7 separate regions of the Homo sapiens genome follow, and regions 1, 2, 3, 5, 6 and 7 are each linked to region 4. Evidence: promoter capture Hi-C in human tissues and cell types (Jung and others, 2019). All regions are on one chromosome and are shown on one strand. Each heading gives the region's core, a stretch centred on a gene start or on the middle of the fragment in contact. The rest is flanking DNA. Distances are from core to core; before and after follow the strand shown. Region 1 overlaps MMP24-AS1-EDEM2 (MMP24-AS1-EDEM2 readthrough). Region 2 overlaps TRPC4AP (transient receptor potential cation channel subfamily C member 4 associated protein). Region 3 overlaps ASIP (agouti signaling protein). Region 4 holds the start of TP53INP2 (tumor protein p53 inducible nuclear protein 2). Region 5 has its middle 13 kb from the start of ASIP. Region 6 has its middle 37 kb from the start of ASIP. Region 7 has its middle 19 kb from the start of AHCY.

The links. The method cuts DNA at HindIII sites, captures the fragments that hold promoters and counts their contacts. A contact is called where the count stands out against the background at its distance.
Region 1: a contact is called between a fragment that was not itself captured here and the fragment with the promoter of TP53INP2 in region 4, in 1 of the 25 tissues and cell types used here (spleen).
Region 2: a contact is called between a fragment that was not itself captured here and the fragment with the promoter of TP53INP2 in region 4, in 2 of the 25 tissues and cell types used here (aorta and dorsolateral prefrontal cortex).
Region 3: a contact is called between a fragment that was not itself captured here and the fragment with the promoter of TP53INP2 in region 4, in 1 of the 25 tissues and cell types used here (lymphoblastoid cells).
Region 5: a contact is called between a fragment that was not itself captured here and the fragment with the promoter of TP53INP2 in region 4, in 2 of the 25 tissues and cell types used here (IMR-90 fibroblasts and lymphoblastoid cells).
Region 6: a contact is called between a fragment that was not itself captured here and the fragment with the promoter of TP53INP2 in region 4, in 4 of the 25 tissues and cell types used here (IMR-90 fibroblasts, lymphoblastoid cells, mesenchymal stem cells and 1 more).
Region 7: a contact is called between a fragment that was not itself captured here and the fragment with the promoter of TP53INP2 in region 4, in 6 of the 25 tissues and cell types used here (IMR-90 fibroblasts, bladder, hippocampus and 3 more).

Annotation. Positions count from the first base shown.
Region 1 is chr20:35,118,080-35,121,192 of GRCh38, reverse strand. MMP24-AS1-EDEM2 (MMP24-AS1-EDEM2 readthrough) reads left to right here. Exons shown (of 15, transcript NM_001355008.2): 14 at 2,474-2,595. EDEM2 (ER degradation enhancing alpha-mannosidase like protein 2) reads left to right here. Exons shown (of 11, transcript NM_018217.3): 10 at 2,474-2,595. Among named protein-coding and RNA genes, the nearest start is that of TRPC4AP, 27 kb to the right of the region's middle. The HindIII fragment of the contact is 4,711 bases long and covers 1-3,113 here.
Region 2 is chr20:35,050,156-35,053,060 of GRCh38, reverse strand. The region is part of intron 5 of TRPC4AP (transient receptor potential cation channel subfamily C member 4 associated protein); the gene reads left to right. Among named protein-coding and RNA genes, the nearest start is that of TRPC4AP, 41 kb to the left of the region's middle. The HindIII fragment of the contact is 3,382 bases long and covers 1-2,905 here.
Region 3 is chr20:34,255,682-34,258,567 of GRCh38, reverse strand. All of the region lies in intron 1 of ASIP (agouti signaling protein), which reads right to left. It also overlaps a transcript of AHCY not described here. Among named protein-coding and RNA genes, the nearest start is that of ASIP, 16 kb to the right of the region's middle. RefSeq lists an enhancer at 2,500-2,679. The HindIII fragment of the contact is 9,204 bases long and covers 1-2,886 here.
Region 4 is chr20:34,703,009-34,705,884 of GRCh38, reverse strand. TP53INP2 (tumor protein p53 inducible nuclear protein 2) reads right to left here and starts at 1,541. Exons shown (of 5, transcript NM_021202.3): 1 at 1,373-1,541; 2 at 411-527. LOC105372599 (a long non-coding RNA gene) reads left to right here and starts at 1,703. Exons shown (of 2, transcript XR_936690.3): 1 at 1,703-1,748; 2 at 2,072-2,226. RefSeq lists a silencer at 1,266-1,745. The HindIII fragment of the contact is 10,895 bases long and covers 1-2,876 here.
Region 5 is chr20:34,226,695-34,229,745 of GRCh38, reverse strand. It overlaps a transcript of ASIP not described here. Among named protein-coding and RNA genes, the nearest start is that of ASIP, 13 kb to the left of the region's middle. The HindIII fragment of the contact is 4,655 bases long and covers 1-3,051 here.
Region 6 is chr20:34,202,967-34,205,849 of GRCh38, reverse strand. It overlaps a transcript of ASIP not described here. Among named protein-coding and RNA genes, the nearest start is that of ASIP, 37 kb to the left of the region's middle. The HindIII fragment of the contact is 6,854 bases long and covers 1-2,883 here.
Region 7 is chr20:34,320,690-34,323,958 of GRCh38, reverse strand. No RefSeq gene overlaps it. Among named protein-coding and RNA genes, the nearest start is that of AHCY, 19 kb to the right of the region's middle. The HindIII fragment of the contact is 4,210 bases long and covers 1-3,269 here.

The sequences.
Region 1 (3,113 bases), core at 84-2,583, 420 kb before region 4:
TAATTATTTCATTATATATTACAATGTAATAATAATATAAATAAAGTGCACAATAAATGTAATGCACATGAATTATCCCAAAACCATCTCCTACAAGCCCAGTTCATGGAAAAATTGTCTTCCATGAAACTGGTCCCTGGTGCCAAAACGGTTGGGGACCACTGCTCGACAGAGTTGGTCAGATGCACAGGAAAGTAAAGCAATAACTAACATGCTTAGGAGGCCCACATGTGAGGAGAGAAGCGTGATGGCTGGTCATGAGGGCACTGGCCCACCAGCTGCTAGAAGCAGAAGAGGGCTGGGTGTGGTGGCTCACGCCTGTAATCCCAGCACTTTGGGAGGCCAAGGCGGTGGATCAACTGAGGTCAGGAGTTCGAGACCAGCCTGACCAATATGGCGAAACCCTGTCTCTACTAAAAATACAAAAATTAGCCGGGCACGGTGGCATGTGCCTGTAGTCCCAGCTACTCAGGAGGCTGAGACAGGAGAATTGCTTGAACCTGGGAGGCAGAGGTTGCAGTGAGCCAAGATCATGCCATTGCACTCTAGCCTGGGTAACACAGCAAAACTCCCTCTCAAAAAAAAAAAAAAAAAAAAAAGAAGAAGCCGAAAAAAGAAGCAGAAGAGGAGGCCTCCCATGAGGGCACTGTCTTTTCTGCCTTTGAACACACAGAATGTGTTCATCTAGTAATGAATGTACCCTAGTCTGTGCCTTAGAATATGAGCAATTAGATTAGCAATTGTCTAGAGGCCTGTGAGGAGAGGGGAGGAGGAAGTAAGAGAGAACTGGGGAGATAGGCAGAGACCTTTTCTCTAAAATAAGAACTAGAGGCTGGGTGCAGTGACTCACGCCTGTTATCTCAACACTTCAGGAAGCCAAGACTGGCGGATGACTTGAGGTCAGGAGTTTGAGACCAGCCTGGCCAACATGGCGAAACCCTGTCTCCACTAAAAATACAAAAATTAGTCAGGGCTGGTGGCGCATGCCTGTAATTCCAGCTACTTGGGAGGTTGAGGCATGAGAATCCCTTGAACCCAGGAGGCAGAGTTGCAGTGAGCGGAGATCGCACCATGGCACTCCAGCCTGGGTGACAGAGTGAGACTCTGTCACAAAAAAGTAATTAACGGAATAAAATAAGAACCAGAGTTTGCAGCAATAAGCCAAAAGGGACAGAAGCACTGATCAAGCCCAGGAGGAAACAGGACAGGAGAAGGTCAGGGGGAGATGATGGTATAGAAAGGAGACAGGGGTTCTTCTGTCTCTTAGAAAAGATGGATGAAGTAGAAAAACATACTGAGCTGAGGCCACCCTTGAAGTCAACTCTACAACAGTTCTTCAGGTATTTGAAAGCAATAAACACATTTTTTTTGGATTTCCTTATCTCTAGAATAAATATTCTCATCTGGACCCACTCCTGTTGGCTAATATTCATCTTAAGGTAGAGCTCATGTCTTAACATCAAGTTCCAGTTGTGGCATAGAATTGGGCAAGACAAAACATCACTTTTTCTGGCCACAGTGAACTGATGACTACGTCTTTGTTAGATTGACGGTTTGGTGGTTTATTTTATTTTATTTTTTTAATTTTTATTTTTTGAGATAAGGTCTCACTCTTGTCATCCAGGCTGGAGTGCCGCAGTGGCTTAATCATGGCTCACTGCAGCCTCAAACTCCTGGGCTCAAGTGATCCTCCTACCTCAGCCTCCTGAGTAGCTAGGACTACAGGTGCATGCCACACCCAGCTAATCATTTTTAATTTTTGTAGAGACAAGATCTCGCCATGTTGCCCAGGCTGGTCTCAAACTCCTGGGTTCAAACGATCCTCTCACCTTGGCCTCCCAAAGTGCTGGGATTACAGGCATGAGCCACCCACCATGCCTGGCCTGCTCTTGGATATCTCAGCCTTTTCTTTTGGTCCATCCTATCTTAGAACGAGCCTTATGATGCCAAGCTCTTACTCTTCTTTTGAGTTTTAGAATTAGGTTAGACTCTGAGTGACAGGAAAAAAAATAGTAGCTTAATTAGGATAGAAATGTATTTCTCTCTCATGTTCTGGGCTTATATGGCTCGCCATGGTGTCCTTAATCCCACCTAGCTGTTAGAATAGTTAGTGTTGGCAGCCAGGCAGCCTGTGCTTAGCTAAAGTTAGGAATCCTGCTACTAAGGAGGAAGCGGGGAACAGATATTGGGAATTAGGCAACAACCTCCGCCACCTTCTCTATGCCAGAACCTGGCCACCTTTCTCTCCCTTGTGGTGGAAGTCACTGGTCAGCCTTAATGCTGGTCTCCACTGAGCTTCAAGCTTTGGGTATACTGGCTCTGAAACTCAGCACTGGGTGAGGTATCCTGTGTTCCTGCTAGTTGGGGCCTTATGGACAAGATATGGAGGGGAGTAGTCCCTCACGGCCCTAAGAGGCCCCAGGCCATCTCTGTGCAGCCACTGAGTGAGGAGGGTCTGCTTTGGACTTTGCAGAACTTATTGAAAGCGCAATGTACCTCTACCGTGCCACGGGGGATCCCACCCTCCTAGAACTCGGAAGAGATGCTGTGGAATCCATTGAAAAAATCAGCAAGGTGGAGTGCGGATTTGCAACAGTAAGTGTTTGCATGGCCCCAAGAACTGGGAAGAGTCTCCCCTTGCTGCTAAAAAGCCTCTTTAAGGGTAGAGCTTTGGGAGTTCTGACATATCAGCACTAGAAGGGACCTTGGAGATATACATAATGCTCATATTTTACAGATGGGGAGACCAAAGAACAGAGAAGCTAAGTGCCTTGCTAAAGATCTCACAGCTAGTAGAGGTAGAGCTAGAATTAGTTCCTTGGGATCTTGACCCCGGCCCTTGGCATTCCTCCCACAGTGGAGATCTTTGATCTGTTTGAATAGGTGACTTTGAAAAGGTGAGTTTAGCGAAAAGTTTTGTGAGACACTAAAATAGATTTTAAGGGGAATCCAGAGTCCCATAGCCCTATATTCAAACCTGGGACTCCTTAACAAAGCAGTCCTGCTTAGTCTCACAGATATTTCTTGAATGTCTTTCACATGCCAGGCACTCTGCTAGGCCCAAGGGTTACAGCAGTGGCCTTGCTCTCATGGAGCTTACATTTTAATGAGAA
Region 2 (2,905 bases), core at 281-2,780, 350 kb before region 4:
AAGTATTTTTAAATAAAATTTTTTAAAAAATTTGAGGAACATAGGGCGATATGGTTCAATTATGTGCTATCTGGCTGAATTCCATGTTAATGTAGAGAACCTGGGGCTCTCAGGGTTGCAAACACCAATGCCTCCAGGGATCAGGCAGAAAACAGGAAATGTTTGGAATTGCTGGTGTTGGAGTGGGGACTTGTGTAAACTGTGACTAAACTGGAGCAAGTATGTCCTGTCTAAAGATGTTTGAATTCAAAAGTTTAAAAAGTACTGTTGGCCGGGCACGGTGGCTATCACCTGTAATCCCAGCAATTTGGGAGGCTGAGGCGGGTGGATCACTTGAGGTCAGGAGTTCCAGACCAGCCTGGCCAACATGGTGAAACCCCGTCTGTACTAAAAACACAAAAATTAGCCAGGTGTGGTGGTACATGCCTATAGTCCCAGCTACTCAGGAGAGGCAAGAGAATCACTTGAACCCAGCAGGCAGAGGTTGCAGTGAGCTGAGATTGCACCACTGCACTCCAGCGTGGGTGACAGAGTGAGGGTCTCTCAAAAAATAAAAGATAAAAAAATAAACAGTACTGCTCACCAGAAAAAGCTTGGCCTACTGGATGCTAGTTTGTAGCTCCTCATTTAGATACTTGACAGATACTAGGTCAAGAGCTTATGATTAGGCTGGGCGCAGTGGCTCACACCTATAATCTCAACACTTTGATAGGCCGAGGCAGGAGAATTGTGTGTGTCCAGGAGTTCAAGACCAGCCTGGGCAACATAGAACCTGTCTCTACAAAAAATAAAAAACTGGCTGGACGTGGTGTTATATACCATAGTCCCAGCTCCTCAGGAGGCTGAGGTGGGAGGATTGCTTGAGCCTGAGAGGTTAAGGCTGCGGTGAGCCATGATTGTGCCAGTGTACTCACTCAGCCTGGGCTATAGAGTGAGACCCTGTCTCCAAAAAAAAAAAAAAACCAAAAAAAAACCTATGATGAATGTTACATGGAAAAAACTCTCCCCCGAAAAATGTAGTTGCATACAACCTTTTATATATTGTTTTAGTGCTTTTTGGCCTCAGTTAAGAACTTGTGATATAGAGGAAAGGAAGGATTGTGATGGCCTTTTGGGTGGCCACTGTTGACTTGGGAAGGTTTTCCAAGAGGAGTCATTTTAGTCAGTCTGTAAAAGGAGTAGCACTTTGATAAATTGAAGAGAGGAGAAAGGTGGGTAGTCAAGGGTAGCTAGTTAGAGCAGCAGGGTTGTGTATTTGACAGCCTGGAGATAGATTTTTAAGCTTTGAGAAAGTGTAAATTTAGTTCTCTTTTTGTTCTGTTTCTTTGGATCTTCCAGAACTTTTGCTTGTCAGTAAAACTAGAGTCAGTCCTGTTTCACATATCATAGCCAGTGTAGGTACTGTATGTAGTTCGGGAATAACAACCTTTTTTTTTTTTTTTTTTAATGTGTCAGTGCTACGACTGAAGAACCGAAATGTATTAATACAGATGGAGATTGCTTTCTTTAGTGTCCTATTTAATGTGATCGTCAAAGATTTATATACGTGGCACATCTTTATTGATGCCTTCACTTTGAAAATTAAATTTGCCAGGTGCGGTGGTGCACGCCTGTAGTCCCAGTGATTCAGGAGGCTGAGGTGGGGGGATCGCTTGAGCCCAGGTGATTGAGGCTGTAGTGAGCTATATTCGTACTTGTGAATAGTCATGGCCTCAGCCTGGGCAACAGAGTGAGACCCTGTCTCTAAAATTAAAAGAAAGAAAATTAAATTTGTTGCAACATATCTCATTTCACTGATTCTGAAATGCCTCCTAGCTTGGGGTTCCCATTTACCAAACTGTGTGTGTCTGCACTCTTGATTATACTTTTTAAGGAGAAGTCAAGTTTATCGCAGTAAACCTTGGAATTTTTTCAGCTTAGAGGCTAAAAAAAAGAAATATTAAAGTCACTAAGCTCTAGTTGCCTTAAGGCAGTAGGGGTGGGATATATATGTGTGTGTGTGTGTGTGTGTGTGTGTGTGTGTGTGTAAGCTATAGCAGTACTGCAGTTTCTTTCTTTTTAGAGATAGGGTTTCACTCTGTCCCCATGCTGGAATGCAGTGGTGAGACAGATTGTAGCTCACTGCGGCCTCACACTCCTGGCCTCAAGCGGTCCTCTCACCTCAGCCTCCGGGGTAGCTGGGATTACAGGTGTGAGCCACTGCACTTGACAATACTGCAGTTTTAAATCCAAACTCTTGAACCTAAGTTTTAAGGTCTTTTACCAGCTAGTTTCCTTAACTTCCTTCATACCCCTTGGGGGTTTTGTTTTTTTGTTGTTGTTGGTTTTTTTGTTTTGTTTTTTTTTTTGAGTTAGGGTCTCCCTCTGTTGCCAAGGCTAGAGTGCATTTGCACAGTCTAGGCTCACTGCAGCCTCCACCTTCTGGGCTCAAATGATCCTTTTACCTCAGCCTCCTGAGTAGCTAGGACTACAGGCATGCACCACCACACCCAGCTAATATTTATATTTTCAGTAGACAGGGTTTTGGCACGTTGGCCAGGCTGGTCTCGAACTCCTGGCCTCAAGTGATCTGCCCACCTTGGCCTCCCAAAGTGCTGGGGTTACAGGTGTGAGCCACCACGCCTGGCCTCAAAGACTTTTAAGATGATCATTTTACTGATGAAAAAAATGGAGTTCCAAAGGTGAGAAGTGATTTGCTCAGGATCACACAGCTGGAATTAGAACTTAGGTCTGACTCTTAAGTCCATGCTTCGGCACTGTTTGATTTCAGATTTAAGAATGGCCTTCAGAACTCTGAGATAAGTTATTTTAGGAAATACCATCTCATTGTGTTATGTTCTCACAAGTGAGTTCCCACTTGTGTAGCCTGCACGTCAGGAGACTTTTTTCTTCCATAGCTGGGGAG
Region 3 (2,886 bases), core at 329-2,828, 450 kb after region 4:
TACTTCCTGGTCCCCATATGATGCTTGTCCTTTCCCACTGATCGCAGTGCTTAGCTTGCTATACAAACATTTATTTACTTATCATTTGTTAATGGTCATCAAAGCCCAAATGAGTGACTACAGTACTTATTTGCCCTTCTCACATTTCATATGGCATTTATCCAGTCTGGAGATAAGAATGGTTTTTACATTTTTAAATGATTCTATTAAAAAAAAAAAAAGAATATCCAACGGAGACCCTATGTGTTCCACAAAGCATAAAATATTTATTATCTGGCCTTTTACAGAAAAAGTTTGCCAACTCCGTCTAGATTGTAAGAATCATGATGGATTGGAATAAGAACATCATGTTTGCTCCATCAATATCTACTAACCGATGGAGCACTTAACTATTTCTTTTCTTTCTTTCTCTCTTTTTTTTTTTAAGATGGAATCTCACTCTGTTGCCCAGGATGGAGTGCAGTGGTGCGATCTTGGCTTACTGCAACCTCTGCCTCCCGGATTCAAGCAATTCTCCTGCCTCAGCCTCCTGAGTAGCTGGGACTACAGGTGCTTGCCACCACGCCCAGCTAATTTTTGTATTTTTTGTAGAGACAAGGTTTCACCATGTTGGCCAAGCTGATCTCAAACTCCTGACCTCAAGTGATCTGCCTGCCTTGGCTTCCCAAAGTGCTGGGGTTACAGGTGTGAGCCACCGCACCCAGCCCAACTATTTCTTCAGGAAAAGATATTGATGACCTTTATTAAAAGGCTAATGTGCCAATAATATTTCTCATTAATTTATCAGACTTCAGATTTGTTTTAGTACAGGACTGGGTCCTAATGAGACAAGAGCTAGGACTGGTAAACTTGGATTGTGGAGGCAGAGGAAAAATTACATCATGAATAGTTATCATAATGTTTTGAAACTTATTATTATATCATGCTGTCTAGAATTCATAAAGATTCAATACAGTAACATTTGGAATAGAAATATGAAATATTTGTAAACTAGATAATATTTTAGTTACATAAAATTAAATATATATTTAAAATTTTTATTCTGTATCATTGATCTCTTCCAAAAGCAATATTGTTTTTAATTTTTAGCTTCTGATTGTTGCTAAAAAGACCATTTTTCAAATAACAGCATCTAGCTTTAATGGGTATTAATTAGGAAGGCAAATTAGAAATAAATTCAACCCGGCTGGGCTGGTGGCTCACGCCTATAATCCCAGCACTTTGGGAGGCTGAAGCGAATGGATCACTTGGGGTCAGGAGTTCGACCTGGCCAACATGGTGAAACCCCGTTTCTACTAAAAATACAAAAATTAACCAGGTGGTGGCCTCCTGAGTAGATGCCTATAAATCCACCTACTCAGGAGGCTGAGGCAGGAGAATCGCCTGAACCCAGGGGGAGGAAGTTGCAGTGAGCTGAGATCGTACCACTTCACTCCAGCCTGGGTGAAAGAGGGAAACTGTCTCAAAAAACAAAAAACAAAAAACAAAAAAAAAAAAGAGAAAGAAAGAGAGAGAGAAAGAAAGAAAAAGAAAGAAAGAAATTCAACTTTAAAAAACAAGGAAAGTAAAGGATGGAGATGTGGTGGAATGTGGTGGGAAGCTCTGATTAACAAAAGGCTCTTAGCAGGGAGTGGCGGCACAAGACTGTGTTCCCAGCTACTCGGGTGGCTGAGGTGGGAGAATCACCTGACCCCAGGAAGTTGAGGCTACAGTGAGCTGTGATTGTACCACTGCACTGTTACCCAGCCTGGGCAACACAGTGAGACTCTATCTCAAAAACAAAAACAAATGAGCTCGATTAAGGCAAGTTACAAGAGGCATGTTATAAATTAGGAGGCGGTACGTGTAGTTATTTTGTGTCTTTGGGTTTTCCTTACCATAAATAATATACTCATGGGCCAAAAACTGTAATGGGAATTTCTACAAAGAAGTGAGAGTGGCCGGAAAATCTGAGCTAGAAAAAGAGGCCAGGCATGGTGGCTCACGCCTATAATCCCAGCACTGGAGGAAGCCACAGGAGGAGGATTCCTTGATCTTAGGAATTTGAGACCAGCCTGGCAACATAGAGAGACCTCATCTCTACAAAAAATTTTTAAAAAATTAGCCGGGTGTTATCGGGTCCAGCCCTACTGGGTCTGTGGGTTTTTTCTCCTCATGTGTGGAGACGAGAGATCGTAGAAATAAAGACACAAGACAAAGAGACAGAATAAAATACAGCTGGGTCCGGGGGACCACTACCACCAAGGCACAGAGACCAGTAATGGCCCCGAATGCCTGGCTGTGCTGTTATTTATTGGATACAAGACAAGGGGGCAGGGTAAGGAGTGTGAGCCATCTCCAGTGATAGATAAGGTTACACAAGTCACGTGTCCACCAGACAGGAGGCCCTTCCCTGTTTGGCAGCCGAGGCGGAGAGAGAGGACAGTTTATGCCATTATTTCTTCTATGCATTTCAAAGACTTTAGTACTTTTACTAATTCTGCTACCACTCTCTAGAAGGCGGAGCCAGGTGTACGGGGTGGAACATGAAAGCGGACCAGGAGCGTGACCGCTGAAGCACAGCATCACAGGGAGATGGTCAGGCCTCTGGAGGCTGCGGGTGGGCCTGACTGATGTCAGGCCTTCCACAAGAGGTGGTGGAGCAGAGTCTTCTCTAACTCCCCCGGGGAAAGGGAGACTCCCTTTCTCGGTCTGCTAAGTAACCGGTGCCTTCCCGAGCACTGATGCTACCACTAGACCAAGGTCCACTAGGTAATGGGTGCCTTCCCAGGTGCTGGCATTACTGCTAGACCAGGAAGCCCTCTAGTGGCCCTGTCCGGGCGTAACAGAGGGCTCACACTCTTGTCTTCTGGTCACTTGCTCACCGTGTCCCTTCAGCTCCTATCT
Region 4 (2,876 bases), core at 292-2,791:
GCCAGCTTCCTGGTTCTCACATTCCCAGTTCTGCTCCAGGGAGAACCATTCCCTTTAATAACTACAGCAGCTCTGCCCAGAATAGCATTTGTGCCCTAAGCCACCCCTACCCCCAGCCCATCCTTGAGCAAACTCCCAGCAGGAATGGAGTTCCTGGTTCAGCCTCTAGGCCCATCCACTTGTTAAGTCAGAAACTCTCCTTATCCTATCCCTTCTCCTATACTCTCTGTGGGCAGAGGTGACGAGGGAGCAGCAAAACACCTGCAATTGTCTGCACTAGGCCAGGTCAGGCCCTTCCTAGCTGACGACCTAGGAAGTTGGGAAGGTAAAGGGCCAATAGAGGGAACCCTCACCCCACCCTCCACCCCAACATCAGCCCTGGAGACACCCCGAGGCAGCCAATGACTCACCTCTCTGTGATCCAAACAGCTGGGAGGCAGCGATTTTATTGGACTCTAGGACTTCAAGGTACAGTGAGGACAGAAGGGGTCAGGACCACAAAAGGTGAACCAATCTCCAGAGATTCCCTGGAAAAGGGTCCAGGAGTAAGGACACCTAGGAGCCTATCAAACCGTGATAAGGCTGAGCCCAAGATCGGGTCCCCAGTGGAAGGAGGATGTGTATCTTACCACTTGTACTGAGCCCCTATTATGTCTTTGCCCCTGGCTAATAATCCATCTGTCACTCAGTGAGCATGACTCTAATTGGTTATGTGACCTCGAGAGAGCTAATCCTCCTCTCTGGGCCTGTTGCCCCTTCCATGCACTGGGGTCTAAGACCCTTCATTTTGGGTCTAGGAGTGACATCAGCTAAGGCGCTGCACACAAATCAGGGATTAGGAGGATGTTATTCTGTTAGTCCCTGGGGGCGGAGTCTGGAGCCGGAGGGAGGGGATCCCACCACCATCTGGTGCTGTCCCAACCACCTGGAGTCCCATGCAGCCCTGAACTCCTGACGACCCCCTCAACCTAGGCCCAGCAGCGCCGTCTGACTCCTTCTCAGGTTGCAAAGAGAAAGTAGGGGATCAGAGGCCTGACCCCAGCCCCTGGATAAGCCTAGGAAATCGCCGATCCCCCTGCAGCCCCCTTTGGATTGCAGCGTCTCACCCAGGGCCCAGCCCCGACACAGCGGCTACCGGGTCACGGGAGGACAAGCGACCCGAGCCTGTGGGGGCGGTACCGGCCTTGGTGACGTCTCAATGTCATATGCAAATAGAACGACGTCATGGTCTACCGGGCGTGCGGCAACCAATCGGGAGCCGGGAACGCGGCCCCGGCGGCCGCCGGCGGAGACAGACAAAGGCCCGGGCGCGGGGGGCGCAGGGCGTGTCCGTGGCAGGGGAGCCCCCAGGCCCACCCGGGTCGGGACTCACCTGGGGGCGGGAGGGGGGCGGCACGGCGTTGAGGTAGTTGTGCGGCGGGGCGTCCCAGGGTCGCCGGCCGCTCACAGGCCGGGCCGCATCGCCGGGACTCGCGGGGGAGGCGGCGGGGCCGCGGTCGCTCCGGGCTGCTGAGCTCGCCCGCGGGGCTTTGAGTCTGTGCGGCCGCTGCGGCGGGGCTCACGGCACAAATTGGAACGTTCAAACAGCTGATTGTGACGTCACAAAGGGGCCCGCCCGCCTCGCGTCACCGGCTGGCGGGGCGGCGGCCAATCCCGGGCTGCGGATCCCCCCCTGCCCCTCCCCTCCCCTCCCCTCCCGGTTTGCGGGCCGGGCGCTCGGGCCGGGAAACGTTCTCGGAACCGGGAGGGTGAGTGTTCGGGGAGGCAGCTGCGGGGAGCTGGGAGCCCTGCGCCGCGGCGAGCTCTCCGCGAGGAGGATCTCCACTCCCTCCTACCGGCTCCTTATTTTCCTGATTCTTCCCGGATCGCAGCGCCCTCACCTCTCCCACTGCTCCCCAAATCCTTTCACTGCATCCTATATCCAAGTCCCCCGATGCGGACCCTGTTCTCGACCCACACCACGTCCGTGCACCTGCATTCTCCCCACTGCCCTTATTCCTGCTCTCCCTCCCCCCTCTGGCTCACCTCCTCAGCCTTACACACTCTGCTTTCCCACCCCGTTTTTCCTCAGCTCGGCGGGCTTGAGAAAAGAGGGACATCCCCAACCCCCGGTTCCCGGGGAGCATCTGGGAATGTAGAGAAGTTAGTGAAGCTGACGTGAAATTTCGCAGAGTAGGACTTGGAGAGGAATTGCCCTGGGCTGAGTAAACATTGACCTGAGACGGCTCCGCGCTTGAACGTTTACATACCTTATTTAATCTATGTTGCTACCGGGGCTGTAAAGAAGTGGCAGGACAGGGACTGATTATGAGTCCTGATTTACACGTGGGAAAGCTGAGTCTCACAATCTCACTGTTAGCGTGTGAACTCATGTTCAACAATGCATTCAACATTTATTAGGCACCTACTATTGCACCACCATACCACTAGCTGACATGTATTGGCACACTTACTGTGTGCCACGACCTGTGCTATGGGTGTGTTTTTTTATCTTCACAACAACCCAAAAGGTAGATATTGTCCCGTTTAACAGTTGAGGAAACAGACTCAGAGAGCTCAAGTGACTTTCTTAGGTCACAAAAGTACAGTCAATGGCAGAGCCAGGATTTGAACCCATAGCTCCCAGCCCTGACCCTCTCCATTCTCTACATGAACCAGATGGTCTAAACCTCAGGGCGCTTTAGCCTCCCCAGAGTCCTGGCTTTCAGTCCTGACTGTGCCCTAGACTTGCTGTGTGACCTCAAGTCATGTTACCTCTCTGGGTCTCAGTTTGTCAAACAAACATATCCAGGCTTCCCTCTAGAGCTGCCATTGTAAGATTCTTCCACACTCTCTGCCCTCAGGATTCCACCCACCCCACGCTCTAGGCCCCAGCT
Region 5 (3,051 bases), core at 243-2,742, 480 kb after region 4:
CTGCCCGGCCACCCCTACTGGGAAGTGAGGAGCCCCTCTGCCCGGCCAGCCGCCCCGTCCGGGAGGGAGGTGGGGGGGTCAGCCCCCCGCCCGGCCAGCCGCCCCGTCCGGGAGGGAGGTGGGGGGGTCAGCCCTCCGCCCGGCCAGCCGCCCCGTCTGGGAGGTGAGGGGCACCTCTGCCCGGCCGCCCCTACTGGGAAGTGAGGAGCCCCTCTGCCCGGCCAGCCGCCCCGTCCGGGAGGGAGGTTGGGGGGTCAGCCCCCCGCCCGGCCAGCCGCCCTGTCCGGGAGGGAGGTGGGGGGGTCAGCCCTCCGCCCGGCCAGCCGCCCCGTCTGGGAGGTGAGGGGCGCCTCTGCCCGGCCGCCCCTACTGGGAAGTGAGGAGCCCCTCTGCCCGGCCAGCCGCCCCGTCCGGGAGGGAGGTGTGGGGGTCAGCCCCCCGCCCGGCCAGCCGCCCCGTCCGGGAGGGAGGTGGGGGTGTCGGCCCCCCGCCCGGCCAGCCGCCCCGTCCGGGAGGGAGGTGGGGGTGTCGGCCCCCCGCCCGGCCAGCCGCCCCGTCCGGGAGGTGAGGGGCGCCTCTGCCCGGCCGCCCCTACTGGGAAGTGAGGAGCCCCTCTGCCCAGCCACCACCCCGTCTGGGAGGTGTGCCCAACAGCTCATTGAGAACGGGCCAGGATGACAATGGCGGCTTTGTGGAATAGAAAGGCGGGAAAGGTGGGGAAAAGATTGAGAAATCGGATGGTTGCCGTGTCTGTGTAGAAAGAAGTAGACATGGGAGACTTTTCATTTTGTTCTGCACTAAGAAAAATTCCTCTGCCTTGGGATCCTGTTGATCTGTGACCTTACCCCCAACCCTGTGCTCTCTGAAACATGTGCTGTGTCCACTCAGGGTTAAATGGATTAAGGGCGGTGCAAGATGTGCTTTGTTAAACAGATGCTTGAAGGCAGCATGCTCGTTAAGAGTCATCACCACTCCCTAATCTCAAGTAATCAGGGACACAAACACTGCGGAAGGCCGCAGGGTCCTCTGCCTAGGAAAACCAGAGACCTTTGTTCACTTGTTTATCTGCTGACCTTCCCTCCACTATTGTCCCATGACCCTGCCAAATCCCCCTCTGTGAGAAACACCCAAGAATTATCAATAAAAAAATAAATTTAAAAATAAAAAATAAAAAAAAAATAAAAGGCAGATTTTACTGAATGTAAATTACATATTAATAAGCAACTGCCACAAAACCAACAAAACCCAGTTGCTTTGGTGTCGTAGCATGTGCAGCTCCATGACCCTTGAGGAGGCTCAGCACGCTTTTCAAAACATCCACGTGTGATTCCGACATTCTAGCATTTGTATTTAGAAAGGAAGTGAAGACTTTTCTGCATGTTGTTTTGTTAAAATGTTGAACTGAGGTTTGAGTATGTAAATATTATTTTTTCCTGTGTAAACACATCAGCCAAAAATATATTGACAAATACATATGTTCAAAAAAAAAATAAATAAAAAATAAAGTAGTTTCCAAAGGAAAAAATAAAAAAAATAAATAAAAATTAATCAGGAAAAAAAAAAAAAAAAAAAAAAAAAAAAAAAAAAAAAAAAAAAAAAAAAAAAAAAAAAAAGAAAGTTCTATAGTGTTAGATTTTACATTTATGTCTACAGTCCATTTTGAATTAATTTTTATATGGTGTGAAGTTATGAATTGAAGTTCATTTTATTGCATATGGCTAACTGTTCCAGTACCATTTGCTGAAAAGATTATATTTTGTACCTTGTGGGAAATCACTTGACCATACATGTGTGAGTCTATTCCTAGACTCTCTATTCTGAACTACTGACTTGTCTATCTTTATAGCAATACTACACTGTTTTGATTATTCTCCAAGTCTGGAAGTCAGGGAGAGTGAAGTCTTCAAACTGTTCTTTTTTGAAGTTGTGATTACTCTAAGTCCTTTGTATTTCCACATGAATTTTAGAATAAACTTGTCAACTTCTACTAAAACCTACTGGGAGTTTGATTGGAGTTGTGTTGAATCTATTGATAAACCTGGGGAGAACTGACATCAGAACAATATTGAGTCCTCTGATCCACGAATATGGTATATCTCTTTTTTTTTTTTTTTTTGAGATGGAGCCTCACTCTGTCACCAGGCTGGAGTGCAGTGGCACAATCTCGGCTCACTGCAACCTCCACCTCCTGGGTTCAAGTGATTCTCCTGCCTTAGCCTCCCGAGTAGCTGGGACTGCAGGTGTGCACCATCATGCCCAGCTAATTTTTGTATTTTTAGTAGAGATGGGGTTTCACCATGTTGGCCAGGATGGTCTCGATCTCTTGACCTCGTGATCCGCCTGCCTCGGCCTCCCTAAGTACTAGGATTACAGGTGTGAGCCACTGTGCCCAGCCTGGTATATCTCTTTACTTATTTAAGTATTAATTTCTCTCATTAATGTCTTATGGTTTCAGTATATGAGTCTTGCACAGATTTATCATTAAAAATTTAATATTTTTGGTACCATTATAAATGGCATTTTTTAACACGTCAATTTGTATTGTCTTTGCTACAATATAGAAATAAACTAGTTTCTGTATATTAATCTTGTATGCTTCAAACTTGCTAAACTCATTTATTAGTTCTAGCAGACTTTTTAAGGACTTCATTGGATTTTTTACATAAACAATCATGTCTTTTGCAAATAAATAGTTTTACTGTTTCATTTCCAAGCTTATTGTTTTTTATTCCTTGTTCTTGCCTTACTGAATTAACTGGAATGTCCAGTAGAGAGTTCAATAGAAGATGTGAGAGCAGACATCCTTGCCTTGTTCCTTATTGTAGAAGAAAACATTTGGTCTTTAATCAAGTATGGGGCCAGGTGTGGTGGCTCACACCTGCAATCCAAGCATTTTGGGGAGGCCAAGATGGGAGGATCACTTGAGGCCAGGAGTTCAAGACCAGCCTGGTCAACATAGCAAGACCCCATCTCTATAAAACATAAAAAAAAATTAAGTATGTAAGTTAGCTGTAGATTTTTTGTAGATGAGCTTTATCAGACTGAGGAAGT
Region 6 (2,883 bases), core at 213-2,712, 500 kb after region 4:
TTTGTAAATGCACCAATCAGCGCTCTGTGTCTAGCTAATTGGGTGGGGACTTGGAGAACTTTTTTGTCTAGCTAAAGTATTGTAAATGCACCAATCAACACTCTGTGTCTAGCTAAAGGATTGTAAAAGCACCAATCAGCACTCTGTAAAACGGCAAAATCAGCGCTCTGTAAAATGGAGAAATCAGCGCTCTGTAAAATAGACCAAGCGACAGGATGTGGGTGGGGCCAAATAAGGGAATAAAAGCAGGCAACCAGAGCCAGTAGCAGCAACCCGTTTGGGTCCCCTTCCACGCTGTGGAAGCTTTGTTCTTTCGCTCTTCGCAATAAATCTTGCTGCTGCTCACCCTTTGGGTCTGCACTACCTTTATAAGCTGTAACACTCACCGAGAAGGTCTGCAGCTTCACTCCTGAAGCCAGCGAGACCACGAGCCCAGCGGGAGGAATGAACAACTCCGGATGCGCCGCCTCTATGAGCTGTAACACTCACCACGAAGGTCTGCAGCTTCACTCCTGAAGCCAGTGAGACCACAAACCCATTGGGAGGAATGAACAGCTCTGGACGTGATGCCTTTAAGAGCTGTAACACTCACTGTGAAGGTCTGCAGCTTCACTCCTGAAGTCGGCAAGACCACGAACCCACCAGAAGGAAGAAACTCCGGACACATCTGAACAACTGAAGGAACAAACTCCGGACACACCATCTTTAAGAACTGTAACACTCACCGTGAGGGTCCATGGCTTCATTCTTGAAGTCAGCGAGACCAAGAACCCACCAATTCCAGGCACACTTGTACTTGGTAGCACAATAGGGTGAGTATAATTAAGTATAATTTATTGTACCTTTCAAAATAACTAGAAGAGTAGATTTGGAATGTTCCCAACACAAATAAATGATAAATGCTTGAGGTGATGGATATTCCATTATCCTGATTTGATCATTACACATTATATGCTTGTATCAAAGTATCACATGTACCACATAAATTGTACAACTATTACCTATCCATAAAAATAGAAAATAAATAAAATGAATAAAGTGTAAAAATCACAGGCTCATTTTAACTGATGAGAAAAATACATTTCATAAAATTCACCATCTGTTAATGTTTAAAAATTATATCAAACTAGAATTAGAAGAAAAATTCCTCAATCTGATAAAGAGTAACTACAAAAAGTAAACTCCAGCAACCATCATATTTAACTGAAATTATTGAGTGCTTTCTTTCTATCAGAACTAAGATAAGGATGCCTGCTATTTTCACTTTTATTCATCATTGTTCTTAAGGTTTTACCCAGTCCAATAATTCAAGAAAAAGAAGTTAAAAAACGGGCCAGGAGCAGTGGCTCACACCTGTAATCCCAGCACTTTGGGAGGCCAAAGTGGGTAGATCACCTGAGGTCAGGAGTTCAAGATCAGCCTAACCAACATGGAGAAACCCCATTTTTACTAAAAATACAAAATTAGCCAGCATGGTGGCGTGTGCCTATAATCCCAGCTACTCGGAAGGCTGAGGCAGGAGAATCGCTTTAACCCACGAGGCGGAGGTTGCGGCGAGCCAAGATTGCACCATTGCACTCCAGCCTGGACAACAAGTGCAAAACTCCGTCTCAAAAAAAAAAAAAAATTAAAAAAATAACTATCTGAAAGAAATCACTACACACACTACACATACTACATGATTGTGAATCTATAAATAAACTATAAGAATTATTAAGTTAATTAAGCAGGGTTGCTGTATGCAAGTATAAATACAAAATTTTAATTATTATGTCAATATGCCAGCATCAAACAACTAAAAATGAACATTAAAATATGCCATTTATGGCCGGGCGTGGTGGCTCACGCCTGTAATCCCAGAACTTTGAGGCCAAGGCAGGTGGATCACCTGAGGTCAGGAGTTCGAGACCAGCCTGGCCAACATGGTGAAACAACCCCATCTCTACTAAAAATACAAAATTAGCCGGGTATGGTGGCGTGTGCCTGTAATCCCAGCTACTTGGGAGGCTAAGGCAGGAAAATTGCTTGAACCTAGGAGGCAGAGGTTGCAGTGAGGCAGGATCGTGCCATTGCACTCCAGCCTGGGCAAAAAAGAGCGAAACTCCATCTCAAAAAATAAATAAATAAATAAAATTAAAATACGCCACTTATAAGGCTGGGTGCATTGGCTCATGCCTGTAATCTCAGCACTTTGGGAGGCCGAGGTGGGAGGATCACTTGAAGTTAGGCGTTCGAGACCAGCCAGGCCAACGTGGCGAAACCCTGTCTCTACAATAATGCAAAGATTAGCCACGTGTGGTGGCAGGTGCCTGTAATCCCAGCTCCTTGGGAGGCTGAGGCATGAGAATCACTTGAACCCAGGAGGCAGAGGTTGCAGTGTGCCAAAATCATGCCACTGCACTCCAGCTTGAGTGACAGAGTGAAACCGTGTCTCAAAAAATATATATATAATATACATATATATATGCCACTTATAAAATAAATAGAAAATAATTGGGAATAAATCCAATGAATAATATACCAGGTTTCTACATAGAAAACTATAAAACATCAAAAAATTTTAATAAGACTTCAACTAGTGAAGGGATATACCATATTCATGGATAAAAAAATTTAATATTGTAAAGACTTTCATATTAATTGATGGACAGATTTAATGTAATCCCAATAAAAATTCCAGCAGGGTTTTTTTTGGTAGAATTTATAAAGTTATCCTAAAGTTTATGTGGAAATATAGAAGTTCAAGAATAGCCAAGGCTCACGCCTGTAATCCCAGCACTTTGGGAGGCCGAGGCAGGCAGATCATGAGGTCAGGAGATTGACACCATCCTGGCTAACGCGGTGAAACCCCGTCGCTACTAAAAATACAAAAAATTAGCCGGG
Region 7 (3,269 bases), core at 110-2,609, 380 kb after region 4:
GTAGCACAGTTCCTGGCCCTTAGTAGTGTTAAAAGAAAAACTAGCTGAATTAAACGTAAAAGAGTTTAATTGAGCAAAGAATGGGCAGCCTCCCAAGCCAGTGTAGGCTCAGAGACTCCCACGCAGCTGTCACTGGAAAGGGGTCCTAATCTAGCTAGACTCCAAGAGACGGTTCTTGGACCTCACGCAACAAAGAATTCAGGGCAAGTCCACAAAGTGAAAAGTTTATTAAGAAAGTAAAGGAATAGGGCCGGGTGCGGTGGCTCACGCCTGTAATCCCAGCACTTTGGGAGGCTGAGGCAGGCGGATCAAGAGGTCAGGAGATTAAGACCATCCTGGCTAACACAGCGAAAGCCCGTCTCCACTAAAAATACAAAAAATTATCCAGCCGTGGTGGCATGCACCTGTAATCACAGCTACTCAGGAGGCTGAGGCAGGAGAATTGCTTGAACCTGTGGGGCAGAGGTTGCAGTGAGCCGAGATCGCGCCACTGCACTCCCGCCTGAGCGACAGAGTAAGACTTGTCTCAGAAAAAAAAAAAAGAAAGTAAAGGAATAAAAGAGTGGCTACTCCATAGGCAGAGCAGCAGCATGGGCTGCTCAACTGATTATACTTATCATTATTTCTTGACCATATGCTAAACAAAGGGTGGATTATTCATGAGTTTCCTGGGAAAGGGTTGTGCAATTCCTGGAAGTGAAGTTTCCTTCCCTTATAGAGTAACTTCCAGCTGTTGCCATGCATCTGTAAACTGTCGTGGCACTGGCGAGACTGTTTCTTAGCATGCTAATGCATTATAATTAGCGTATAATGAACAGTGAGGACGACCAGAGGGCACTTTCATGTCATCTTGGTTTTTGGTGGGTTTTGGCTGGCTTCTTTACTGTATCCTGTTTTATCAGCAAGGTCTTTGTAACCTGTATCTTATGCTGACCTATCTCATCCTGTGACTTAGAATGCCTAACTTCCTGGAATGCAGCTCAGCAGGGTCTCAGCCTTATTTTACCCAGCCCCTATTCAAGATGGTGTTGCTCTGGTTCGACCTATGAGTATAGCCTATGACACAGCCACGTGGTGGAAGAAGATTTATGAACAGAAAAAGGAAAATGTTGTTTCTGTAGAAACAACCAGATTGGTTATAGCATGGCGTTTTTGTCTTATTTGAACACGGTTTGAATAGCTGGCCACACCTGATTGGCAAAACTCGGTGACTGGCACAAGAGTAGGCTGCAGTCTGTTTACAATTCCATTTAGGTTATAGTTCACAATGTACAGAGAAACCTTTAGGCTGAACTTCAAAATATGTGAGGAGTCAGGTTTAGGCTAAACTTCACTTAAAAGTCAGTACTGAGTAAATGTTTGTTGTATGAATGAACGAATTAACCACTAATTATGATGGGGATGAGGAGGAAGAAGGCCCAGATGTGCAGCTGTCATCTAAACTAAGAAGGCAACTGTGCGTGGGAAGCACTTGACCCTAATAGGGTCCCTGGCTCCTTGCCTGAGTGAGATTAGGAACTTCAGAAAAGCTTTTCTCCACACCCCTCCACCTGGCTCGCCTCATCTTCCCAGCTGGTCACAGTACCCAGAGGTTCATTTGCTTTGAACATCTCTGTAAAGCTCTGAAAGTGTTCTTTGTTTCGACATTTTCTCATTTTTTGCAAGTATCAGGCATGGACAAGCACCTTCTGGAAAACACATAACACTCATACACACATACACACTCAATCTAACACACATGCTTGGCCATATCTCATATTCTTATAACCCTCACCAGCTAACTTACCCACACACAGTCCTAATTATGCACAGTTGTAGACACACATGCTTACACTTGACCTCAAGGTCTCACTCCTCTGTCCCACACACTCACAGACATCCATAGTGTTACAGGAAAGGGGTCCCGATCCAGACCCCAAAGAGGGTTCTTTGATCTCACGCAAGAAAAAATTCAGGGCAAGCCCATAAAGTGAAAACAAGTTTATTAGGAAAGTAAAAGAATAAAAGAATGACTACTCCATAGGCAGAGCAGCCCCAATGGCCGCTGGTTGCCCATTTTTATGGTTATTTCTTGATTATATGCTAAACAAGGGGTGGATGATTCATCCCTCCCCTTTTAGACCTTATAGGATAACCTCCTAACATTGCAAAGGCATTTGTAAACTGTCATGGCTGCAGTGGGAATGTAGCAGTGAGGACGACCAGAGGTTACTCTCGTGGCCATCTTGGCTTTGGTGGGTTTTGGTGGCTTCTTTACTGCAACCTGTTTTATTAGCAAGGTATTTATGACCTGCATTTTGTGCAGATCTCCTATGTTATTCTGTGACTTAGAATGCTTTAAACCTGCCAATCACGGTGGCTCACACCTGTAATCCCAGCACTTTGTGAGGCCAAAGCAGGCAGATCACCTGAGGTCAGGAGTTCGAGACCAGGCTGGCCAACATGGTGAGACCCCCAGTCTGTACTAAAAGTACAAAAAATTAGCCAAGCGTGGTGGTGCACACCTGTAATCCCAGTTACTTGGGAGGCTGAGGCAGGAGAATCGCTTGAACCTGGGAGGTGGAGTTGTAGTGAGCCGAGATCACGCCATTGCACTCCAGCCTGGGTGACAAAAGAGAAACTCCACCTCAAAAAAAAAAAAAAAAAAAAAAAAGAATGCCTTAAACCATCTGGGAATGCAGCCCAGCAGGTCTCAGCCTCTCATTTTACCCATTTCCTCTTTAAGATGGAGTCCCTCTGGTTCACACGTCTCTGACAATAGCACTGCATGTGCCCTCATGTATGTAAACCCCTGCCCAAGTTTCCACTTACACACCCACTCACACTGACAAACACATACACACACTCATTCATTCCCTCAAGCTCAGCTCCCATGGCATGTGCACATGGACCCATTCGAACACATATCCTTGAACACCTCTCCAGGTTTCATAACACACATACAAACAGGCAATGGCCTGGGGCAGTGAACCACACTGGTCAGAGCTTAGTATGATGACCTGTTCCAACAACAGTGATACCCACTGAACATAGGTCGTGGGCTGGATATCCTGCACTTTGGGTCTTTATCTCACTCAATTCTCACAGTAATCCCCTGAAAGCAGTGCTACTATCAGTACCATTTCATAGATGAGGAAACTGAGACTCATAGGCATTAAATAGTAAAGCTAGGATTCTAATCCAAGCATCTGACTCCAGAGCTCACCCCCTTATCTGGTGCGACAAAGTATATTTTTCAGAAATGGTCACAACATCTCCCATCCCTCATG